Linked DNA regions of Homo sapiens: region 2 is linked to region 1. The links are contacts of gene promoters, found by promoter capture Hi-C in blood cells and fetal thymus (Javierre and others, 2016). All regions are on one chromosome and are shown on one strand. Each heading gives the region's core, a stretch centred on a gene start or on the middle of the fragment in contact. The rest is flanking DNA. Distances are from core to core; before and after follow the strand shown. Region 1 holds the start of CDCA5 (cell division cycle associated 5). Region 2 holds the start of MIR194-2HG (MIR194-2 host gene).

Region 1 (5,448 bases), core at 1,015-3,514:
GCCAGAGCCTTCTCCTCCCCGTCCTGTTCCCTAAAATGTCAGTCTTCTTGGCTACCACCATCTAAGTCCAGGCAGGTGCTACCAAGCTGTCCAGCTCACAGGGGTAAGTTTGGGTAGGAAGAAAACGCCACCTCCCCTTTCAGTCCTTTCAATGAGTCCTCTCTGGGCCTGCACTCATCATATTCTTTGGGCTAATGGCTAATAATGAACAGTTTCAGAAAAGGTTCCTCGATACACACACAGGCACACATATACATGTACACATCCCTGGGCACAAATGTACATGTCCTTATAAGCACATAATCAAACACAAGTGGCATTCCCTATATCTACACTATGGGTACAGGAGCCCTCACACATACACATCTATACACTCACAGGTTTGCTAACAGGCACCCTCAACCATGCATTCTCTTGCACTCCCACAACACACCTGTGTTCATATGTTCACATACATACATTTACCCATTCATTCACCCCAAGTACAGATCAACACACTAACACTCATTTAAACACACAATGTACATTAAGTGCCTGCAAGTACACACATGCACTCACAAGGAGAAACACATATGGAGCTGACTCTTGCATGAGCTCCTTCAAAAACTGGAGCTAAGGCTCTTACCCCAGATTCAGGTCAAAGTCATGACACATATGTCTGCTGACTTCTTTTAGCTAACTTTAATGTGGGAAACTCACTTCCTCTCTGTTTAGCCTTGGAATCAGTGGTGGATCCTGAATATCTGAAAGCAACATGCCGGTCTGGCTAGCTAATAGTCACGGCCACCAGCATACCCGTAAGCTTGACTGGTTCTCGCTGAAACCTCCAGATTGGCAGGGCTTAATTTTTAGGAAAGAGGAACTAGGAGCTTTAATTTTTAGGAAAGACAGTGAGGCCTAGAAAGGAAGAATAACTTGCCTGAACTTACACAGCAGGTAAGGAACTTTAACAGGACTAGAATCTGGGCTCTGAGACTCGGGGGACTCACTGTCCTGCTGCTTGAGGAGGGCCTGGAAACCAGTCACCAAGCTGGCCCCTGAGGCTGGCCTGATCCCCCCGAGGTGCCAAGGCCTCACCATAGCAGACAAGGCGGGTCGTCTCTCGGCTGGCCAGGGGTATGTTGCACAGGCGGCAATTGGGGTTGTAGTCGCTATCTTGGAGCCATTGCAGGTAGGACTGGACGATGCACTGGAGTGGGAGAGAGATGTCACAACTGGTGCTGGGGCTGCTCGGCCTATCACCCCAAGGTCCGACTGTCTCTTTTTCTCTAGCCACAGAGGAGACTCATCCTTTCGTTTGTTTAATCAATAAATATTTATTGAGCACATACTGTGCACCAGACTCTCTCTTGGGAACGGGGGATATATCAGTGAACAAAATAAATCAAGTCCTTGCCCTTGTGGGGCTTACATTCTAGCGCGGGGCCCCTCATGGATTTGGAGGAAGCCAATACCGCCTTGCCCACCCAGTGCCCTGCTCAGTCGCTCCCCTGAAGGCCCCACCTTGGCGTGATTGGCTACCAGGCAGTGCTCGCAGACGTTGACCCGATGTTCGAAGCAGAACAGGTTGGTCACCTTTCTCTTGGGGCACTTACAAAGCCCCATGATCGATCCTGGGAAAGGGGCATGAGTTGGTAGGAAGTCAGGTTCTGGTGGCCACCACTACGCTCTCACCAGCCCAGTTTCCACTCTTAACTCCCCCAGACACCTCTCATATTCGCCCCGATCTCAGATTCCTGCCCACTGTCCCTCCTTATGCGGAGAAACACCCCCTGCATAAATCCCGCCTCCGGCGACCCCTCAATCCTTCTGGATCCCGCCCCCGGCCAGGCCCCTCCATCAGAGGCTCCCCGATACTACCGGCCCCGCCCCCAAGACCTCTCCTGAGCCCCACCCCCTCCAAGTCCCGCCCCTTCTCTACAGACCCCAGTCTCTGTGTTTACTGATCGGCCGCTGCACTGGTTCCGAAGGGCGGTAGCGATGGCTCGAGGCGCGGAAGGGCAGGGACCACTCTCCCCAGGGCTCCTGCGCCTCTCCCTTCAGCCCCGGCCGCCCCGATTATCCCTCCGCTGCCACGTCTCTTCCGGGTGCGGCGCGCGCTGATGACGCCATCGCGCCCCTGGGCCACGCCTCCGCTGCCGCTAGAGGTGAAGACGGGTGGAAAAGACTCGGGGTTCCGAGGGCCGCAGACCGCTAGCCCTACGTCACTTCCGCTTCCTTTCCCGCAGGGCGGGTAATTCGAACGTTTTTTGCAGCGAGTGGCCTTCCCGGTTGGCGCGCGCCCGGGGCGGCGGCGCTGGAGGAGCTCGAGACGGAGCCTAAGTTATGTCTGGGAGGCGAACGCGGTCCGGAGGAGCCGCTCAGCGCTCCGGTGAGCGGAGGGCGCGCGGGAGACGTGAGGTCGAGCCGTTTGGGGGACGCAGTCCGGTGAAAGATGGCCTCTTCCCTCCCGCTGCCGCCGCCGGAGGAGGCGCCCTTAAAAGGGCTTGTTTGGGAATCTTCTCGCTGTCTCTAGAACCTGTTCTCTGGACTCTAAGGTCTAGAGTCCTCCTCTACCACTTAACTTTTTTCTCTTTCCAGGGCCAAGGGCCCCATCTCCTACTAAGCCTCTGCGGAGGTCCCAGCGGAAATCAGGCTCTGAACTCCCGAGCATCCTCCCTGAAATCTGGCCGAAGGTGAGCCCCAGATTTCTCACTTCCTCCCCTTGTGGCCCCTCACCTAATGTTGAGCTCACGTTCATCCCTCTTCTCCAGACACCCAGTGCGGCTGCAGTCAGAAAGCCCATCGTCTTAAAGAGGATCGTGGCCCATGCTGTAGAGGTAAAGGCTAAGGAGAGTGTTGTGGGTGGTTAGGCGGGCAAAACTGGGGACCAGCTATGTGATCAATTGGTATTGTCCCCCGCAGGTCCCAGCTGTCCAATCACCTCGCAGGAGCCCTAGGGTGAGTTCACTTTCATCTACTTAATTAAGTAGAATCTGGGTCACTCTAGAGCTGGACAGCACACATTGGCTCCTCACATCTGCCCAGGGAGCTGTTTTGCAGTACTGCAAAAACAGTTTGCCTGTGGGCACCTGCATGCATTGCCAGTCTTGATTACTCCCTGAAGACTTAATACACTTAACTTTTTATGCCTTGTGTATTTCTACCATTTTCCTGGAACTTCCTTTAAAAGCTGAGCTATGTCTTAACTCCACGTACTGCCTTTCTAATCCATTATGCCTTCAGCTTTCATGTATGGGTGTTCTGAGATAAGTCATGTGTATGACATTTTTACAGTTTTAGCAGAAGTTATTATCAAAGGATGTTTCATTAATAGACAATCTGAAGACATACTGACTGAGAAATGTGAACTCCTTTGAAGAGCTGATAGGGCTTAGAGTCAACTGGGGAGAAAGACCAATGACAAGTGATAGCAACGTTGTGTACTGGGACTGCAATAAGGAATACTAGATGCTATGATGGTAGCTAACCCAGACCATGTGGCTCAGGGAATGTTTCGTGGAAGAAGAAACATTTGAACTGAGTCTTTAAAGACAAGTAGAGGCCGGGTGCAGTGGCTCACGCTTGTGATCCTAGCATTTTGGGAGGCTGAGGCGGGCAGATCACTTGTGGTCAAGAGTTTAAGACCAGCCTGGCCAACGTGGTGAAACCCTGTGTCTACTAAAAATACAAAATTAGCCAGGCATGGTGGCACGTGCCTATAGTCCCAGCTACTCAGGAGGCTGAGGCAGGAGAATCGCTTAAACCCAGGAGGCGGAGGTTGCAGTGGGCCGAGATCACGCCCCTGCACTCCAGCCTGGGTGACAAAGCGAGACTCCATCTCAAAAAAAAAAAAAAAAAAAAAGACAAGTAGGTTTGTTCCAGGTCAAAGAAGCCATGTTTGCAGAGATTGGGAATTTAAAGAAAAATCAAGGTTCGGGGAATAGCAATTTGTTTAGTGTCTGCAGCAGACCTCAGCAGGGGAGGAAGCACCCTAAGGCAGAGCAGATCCTGATGAGGCACAAAAGCCACACTCATGGCTTGGGCATCATTCTTGGGTCTGTGGGCAGCCTTTGGAGAGTTCTGGGTAAGGTAGTGACCGAGTCAAGTTTGAGTGTTTTAAGAAAGACCCCTCTGGGGGCTGTGGGGAGAATGGTTTTGAGAAGGGCTACCCTGGGGCTCCAAGACCAGTGGAATGACGTGAAGTCCAGGAATTCTGAAGCATGAAGCCAAGGGCGTGAGCTAAAGCCAGGATGATATACAGTACTGGGTTCAGAGGGAATTGCCCCCCAGTGGCCTTCCCTGACCACCCTTACCCTATTGCTGTCACATTTCTCTATGTAATTCTCTTAGGCCTTACCAGTTCTAAAGATAGGGTCTTGTTCTGCCACCCAGGCTGGAGTGCAGTGGCGAGATTTCGGCTCACTGCAGATCTTCCCTCCTCAGCCTCTCAAGTAGCTGGGACTATAGTCACATGCCACCATGCCTGGCTAATTTTTTGATGTTTTCTCTAATTTTTTTTATAGAGATGAGGGTTCACTATGTTGCCCAGGCCGGTCTTGAACTCCTGGGCTCAAGTGATCCTCCCACCTTGGCCTCCTAAAGTGTTGGGATTACAGGCATGAGCCACTGTGCCTGGTCCTTATCAGTTCTTATAGTGTATTTTCTTGCATGTTTGATGTCTTTCTCTCCCCCCTCTAAGAACACAGGCACCTTGAGGGTAGGGACTTCTGCCTTTCCTAGTAGCCACTCATTCTTGTTGATTGACTGAGATTCATGGTACATCGAGCAGGATAAAGTTGCCAGGACCTGGGTGACTGCTTGGCTATAGAGAATGAGGAAGTCGTAGTCAGCAGTGACCACCAATTTGTTCAGCTTCCCTGTGTTTTTTTTTTTTGAGATGGAGTCTCGCACTGTCACCCAGGCTGGAGTGCAGTGGCGCAATCTCGGCTCACTGCAACCTCCGCCTCCCAGGTTCAACCGATTCTCCTGCCTCAGCCTCCCAAGTAGCTGGGCTTACAGGCACCTGCTACCACACCTGGCTAATTTTTTTTGTATTTTCAGTAGAGATGGGGTTTCACTATGTTGGCCAGGCTGGTCTCAAACTCCTGACCTCAGGTGATCCACCCACCTCAGCCTCCCAAAGTGCTGGGATTATAGGTGTGAACCACCATATCTGGCCACCCATTATCTCTTGAACTTCATCTTCAGTTTCTTCCTCTTGCCTTCACTTCAGCCACACTGGCCTCCTTGTTGTTTGACCCTGACTAGTACACTGTGGCCTCAGGGTTGTTGCACCTTCTGTTCCCACTGCCTAGAACTTGGCCATGAGTCACTCCCACACCTCCTTCAAGTTGTAGCTTGAATGTCACCTCAGTGAGGGATGTATTGACCTTTATCTTTTTGCAATTCTAACCTGCCCCAAGCACTCTCTCCTGTTCTGTTTTCCTGTAGTGCTTGATACTGCTA
Region 2 (5,448 bases), core at 1,642-4,141, 190 kb after region 1:
TGGAGGACGGCTGTGTTTGCAGACTAAGAATCTGAGGCGCAGAGGCTGCCCTGGTTCATTCAGGCCATACGCTTCGCTAGGCCAGAAGGACCCCAGGGAAGCTGGGGAGCCAGTCTCGTGGGCAGTTGTCAGATGAATTCTGTAGGGGATCGATGGTCCTAGGCGGCTAAGGGGTGAGTGCAGGTGCATGGTGCATTCTGGAACCTGCAAGCTCAGACCCCAACAGGACAGAGGGCAGGGCTCCAGGGGAGGTGGGAGGGATGCATGGGCACCAGGGAGCCCCCGGGAGTGTTCAGTCAGGTGGGAAAGAGTGATGCCAGGTGAGATGCTGGGCAGAGGATCTGGCAGACAGAAGGAAGGATGGGCCTCTGACCATCTGGCAGGGGCGTCTGGGGGGCCAGGCAAGGAGCGGTCAGTCTCAGGCGTGCAGCTGCGGCAGCCATGTGGAACCTGCTGAATGTGGTGGTCAGCAGGAAGAGAGGTTTGGGTTGAGAAGACTTTAGGAAAGTCCCCTGAGGAGTCCCACGTTCCTAGGTTCCCTCAGCAGAGTGGCAGGTGCCTAGGAAGGGGAGGAAGAGTGGGAGGAAGTGGGGAGTGAGGCTGAGCAGGACCCCCTAGGCCAGCACAGTGACAGGCAGGGAGGCTGAGGGCTGGTGGGGTCTCAGACTGTCCTGGGGGCCTGGGGCTGACGTGTGCCCCAGCCAGCTGTCCTCATCCAGTGCTCCCATGTCCCCCAGGCCACAGCTGAGACCGTGTATGACATCCTGTCCCCGGCAGCCCCCGTCTCCCGCTCCCTGCAGGATAAGCGCTCTGCGCGGAGGCTGCGCAGGGGCCAGCAGCCTGCCGACCTGCGGGAGGGTGTGGCCAAGGCCTACGACACAGTGCGAGAGGTGACCAGGCCCCCGCCCTGCCCCAGTCCCCCATGCCCATCTCCTCACACAGACCCCGCCCTGACCTCTGGCTTCCACAGGGCATCTTGGATACAGCTCAGACCATCTGTGACGTGGCATCGCGGGGCCATGAGCAGAAGGGGCTGACGGGCGCCGTGGGGGGCGTGATCCGCCAGCTGCCCCCGACTGTGGTGAAGCCGCTCATCCTGGCCACGGAGGCCACGTCCAGCCTGCTCGGGGGCATGCGCAACCAGATTGTCCCCGACGCCCACAAGGACCACGCCCTCAAGTGGCGCTCGGACAGTGCCCAAGACTGAGCCTGGGGTGCCCGGCACCCAGAGGGTGCTGCCCACCATGCTCCTGAGCCTCCCAAGAGCTGCAGCCCACGGGCCCGGCCCGGCCTGGCCCTTCAGGGGATGGCCACTGTGAAGGACGCCTTCCCAGCCTGCCCGTTGCCAATCTGCTGTGAGAGGGGGGCCTCCCTGCCTTGGGGCCTTAGCCCTGGCTCTGCACTTTTCCTCCGGGGAGAAAGGACACTGCCCCTCCCCCGACCTGGGCCCACACTGCTGCCTTCTCCCAGGACGGAGGCTTTTGGACCCTCGGACCCCATCCCACTCAGCCAAGTGTCTTTCTGTGTCTGGGGGGAGGAGGGGATGATATCCGTGTGGTTCGATGTATTATTTTTAAGCTCCGTGAGTGCGTGGGTCAGTGTCTGCATGAAGTGGAATAAACTGCCCACCGCCAGCCCCCCTCTCAGATCCTCTGTCCCTGTGAACCCTGGCCTCAGCCTTGACCTTGGCCCCGCCCCAGATCCCACCTCTGCACCCAGCACCTCCCATGTCACCACCAGGGGTCGCCATGCCTCCTGGCCTTGCCCAGCAGATCAGGGCACAGGGGGACCCAGAGGCACCCAGCCCTGCACGCCTTCCCCTGGCTCTGGGCTCTGCCTTGCCCCTCCCAGGAGGCTGCCACTCCAGCCCCACTCCTGATGTGGCAGGAGCTACGTGGGGCTGCCAGGGGAGGGAGGGATGGTCCTTGGAGCCCAGCTGACCCTGCCTGGTTGTCACTTGAGGCCACTCGGGGAAGGCTGAGCCTGAGGCATTCTAGATGTTGCTCTCACCATCCCTAGTGGGGGCTTTTGGGGTGGCCCAGGCCTTGGCCCCTTGGTTTCCACTCTGATCTGGGGTCCCAGCTCCAGCACTTGGAGGGGGGAGGGGTGCTGGAGCAGCGCTGCAGCCGGAATCCCAACCCTCACTGCACAAAGCTTTACACAGGACCAGGGAGCGCCCATTGCCCCCCACACATCTTGTTTCTTGTGAGCTGCTCCCATCGCGCTCCTCCCTGCCCTGCTTCCCAGTGGCGCTGCACAGAGGTGGGTGGGTCCATGGGGAAACCAAGGCTCGGGTTGGGAATCAGGGAACCCTCACCTTGCTAGGTTCCGCAGGCCTCTGGGGTTAGCAAAGGTCCCCCAGCCCTGCTCTGTGGCCCCTTCTGAGTGGGGGAGATCTGGGTACTGGGAACAGAGCAGAAGCTTTGTCCCGAGGGACCCTGGGGTCCTGGCTGCCCACGGACAGCTGGGGCAGCAGGCTGGTAAGAGACCAGGAGGGCGAGGCCCTGGAGGAGACAGGGCTGTGGAGACTCGGTGCTGATGCCACCCGGAGAGGCAGATGGGGCCCAGCCTGATGCTTCCTGGACCCGCCCCACCCTGCCCGGGCACAGTCCAGGGCTTCCTGCCCTTCGAACCGCACTTGTGATCAGTATTGACGGTGGTGGGATAATCATTAACCACCACCAGGGGCTGGGTCAACGGCTCAAAAGGCCCTGGGCCCAGGGTGTCCCCACTTCCTCCTTGTGCCCCGAAGGCCAGCCCGGCACTCAGGTAAGAGGCTTCCTGAGTGGTAGGACCCCTGCCGCCCTCCCTGTCCTAGGAGGCTCCTGAACCCAGGCACCTCTCTGAAGGGTGGCCAATCCTGAGGAAGAAAGGGACCTGGACAGCCATGGGGTGGCCGGGACGAGCCCCTTCCTCTCTGTGCCTTGGTTTCCACTGTGGGATAAGGGGGCCTTAGCATCAGCGCTCAGAGCTGTGGAGCCAGGATTCCTGATCGGGCGCTGTCTCTGCCAGGCCAGGGCACTTGGACACCACGCTGCAGGAGGCTGGTCTCGCCCAGGCCTCTGTGGGAAGGGCCGCCAGGCTGAGTGGAGGGCCAGCCACCAGCTACGGTGTCTTCCTTCGCAGGTCTGTCCCCCCAGGCAGAAGGATTCCAGCCCAGGGATCCCCCATCCCACCCTGACTGCATCCTGAGAAGGGGGGACGCCACTTCGGGAAGGTTGTTGGGGCAGCACAGGCCCTGGGGCCCTGCTCTGTGACCTTGGGCGGCCCCCTCTGTCTCTCTAGGCCTGTATGCACCACTGGCAAAGGGGGCAGGGCCCAAGTCTACTCTAAAAGCTCCCCTTTCTCTCCAGAAGCTTTGGAGTCTCCCAAAATGCCTGCTGGGTCTCTGCAGGACTGGCACCTGTCACCGGAACCTGTCTGGGAGGGACGAGAACACGCTTTGCAAGAGGAAGCTCTGCCTCACAGAGCCCTGGGCTCACTCAGGGACCCTGGCCAGCAGCTGCTTCCTCTCCCCACAGCGGAGAGAGACCCAAGGGTCCCAGGGCGGATGCTTCCCACCAGGCCAGCCCAGCGTGCAGGGTGGCCTCGTAAGTCCTGATTGACATATGGACAGTGGTTCAGAGAGGTTACGCTACTTGCTCAAGGTCACCCAGCTCCCAGGCCCCTGCTGTCTTCCAGGCCACTGAGGTCCTAAGCGTCCTTCCAGGCGAGCCACTGCTCACAGCCTGTTCCTCATGTTCTGCGGCAGGTTTGTGTATCTACATCTTTTCCAGTTCCCTGTCGTCCCCCTTCCTACACCTCGTCATCCACTATCCCTGTTTGTTTTCTCTGTTCCTTTCTAGTTCTCTACCTGCTCCTCTTATTTTTATTTGAGACAGGGTCTTTCTTTGTCACTGAGGCTGGAGTGCAGTGGCACAATCCCAGCTCACTGGAGCCTCGACCTCCCAGGCTCAAGTGATCCCCCGCCTCAGCCTCTTGAGTAGCTGGGACCACAGGCATGCATCACCACACCAGGCTAATTTTTTATTTTTTGTAGAGATGGGGTCTCACTGTGTTGCCCAGGCTGGTCTTGCACTCCTGGGCTCAAGAGATCCTCCCACCTTGGTCTCCCAAAGTGCTGGGATGCCAGGTGTGCACCGCCATCCTCGGCCTTACTCTTCTCTTCCTCTCTCAGCCCCTCTGCCTCACTATCCCTCTTTCTGTGCCCTCCCCCACACAGCCCCCCACACTTCTTCTTAGTCTCATCTTCAGCTTCCCATACGAGGCCATCCTCATGAAATCAGGCACTGGGAGGTCCCTGGGGACTGACAAGTGCCAGCTGTCCCTTGCTGTCTCTCTGCCCCATGGCTGCAGCAGGGAGGGTGGGCAAAGGGCAGAGGTGACAGTGGCCAAACCTGAAACTGAGGCCCAGCTCTGGTTGGGAAAGAAACAAGGAAACAAAATAACTTGGGGACAGAGGGCGTGGGGTCATCAGAGCGGGCAAAGGCTGCCCAGGAGTTGTAAATCCGAGCCGCTCCCGGCTTTATGAGGCCGATTTGGGGTTGAGCCTGGACTTTGCCCAGGAAGGAGTGCTGGCAGCACACGGGGCGCCAGGTGTGGGCCCCGGATGATAAGAAGCCTCGGTGAAAAGACCATGGACCTGGGGCCACGAAGACTGGGGAGCCCAGGTGAGTGGGCATGGGACACTCTCCAGAGCCCTGCCGAAGGCGGACGCCAGGCAGGGCCCCGGTCTCCAATTGGTTCCCGCCCCCTGTAACAGCAACTCCATGTGGAAGTGCCCACTGGTTCCAGTGGGGCTGCTGTTATCTGGGGCGAGGGCCAGTACCCACGAAGAAGGAGAGGCAGGTGCTGGCCAGCAGACCAGCCAGGACTACCGTGGCGACGCTCCCAGGCCAGATGGTGGCGGGTAGTGGAGGGCTGTCGGTGGGCTGCCGAGACCGAGTGCACAGGGCTCTGACCTATGAATTGACAGCCAGTGCTCTCGTCTCCCCTCTGGCTGCCAATTCCATAGGTCACAGGTATGTTCGCCTCAATGCCAGCCACCAGGACCTGCAGGGATAGGGGAGGGCCGGGGGTGTCCAGCAGTCAGCAGAGATCCTGCGACCCCAGTGCAGCACTCATGGTCCCACCTCCCTCTGTCTCATTCCCCGTGAATGAGCCTGAACAGCTTCAGTCCTGCCCCTGCCCTGCCTGCCCTGTGGCACCTCTATGCTTTGCCCATGCTGTTCCCTTGGGCTGCAATACTCTTCCTAGCTTATTTGCCAGGCTCACTCTTACTAACCCTTTCAAGCTCTGTCCAAGCATTTGCTGCCTCCAGAAGGCCTTATTGAAGCTTCTAAGTCCCCACCTGGGCACCCCCACACAGTGCTGCCGCAGAGCACTGCCCTCTCGGAGCCCCGGTGCTGGTTTCTGCTTATGTCTCGCTCCTCTCCCCATCTGTGAGCT

What was found. Contacts are between HindIII fragments. The CHiCAGO score rates a contact against its expected background, and 5 or more counts as called.
Region 2: a fragment that was not itself captured here is called in contact with the fragment with the promoter of CDCA5 in region 1 in 1 of 17 cell types (endothelial precursors); the score reaches 5.1 in endothelial precursors.

What each region holds. Positions count from the first base shown.
Region 1 is chr11:65,080,856-65,086,303 of GRCh38, reverse strand. CDCA5 (cell division cycle associated 5) reads left to right here and starts at 2,264. Exons shown (of 6, transcript NM_080668.4): 1 at 2,264-2,371; 2 at 2,581-2,675; 3 at 2,754-2,819; 4 at 2,905-2,940. The coding sequence starts at 2,326. It overlaps ZFPL1 (zinc finger protein like 1), which reads right to left and starts at 2,082. Exons shown (of 8, transcript NM_006782.4): 1 at 1,926-2,082; 2 at 1,504-1,613; 3 at 1,078-1,189. The coding sequence starts at 1,605. RefSeq lists enhancers at 779-1,363, 1,953-2,222, 2,303-2,532. The HindIII fragment of the contact is 9,431 bases long and covers 805-5,448 here.
Region 2 is chr11:64,890,732-64,896,179 of GRCh38, reverse strand. It overlaps MIR194-2HG (MIR194-2 host gene), which reads left to right and starts at 2,731. Exons shown (of 3, transcript NR_133640.1): 1 at 2,731-2,769; 2 at 3,354-3,590. ATG2A (autophagy related 2A) reads left to right here. Exons shown (of 41, transcript NM_015104.3): 40 at 738-890; 41 at 971-1,634. The coding sequence ends at 1,207. It overlaps MIR192 (microRNA 192), which reads left to right and starts at 4,934; the gene lies at 4,934-5,043. It overlaps MIR194-2 (microRNA 194-2), which reads left to right and starts at 4,741; the gene lies at 4,741-4,825. The HindIII fragment of the contact is 935 bases long and covers 2,424-3,358 here.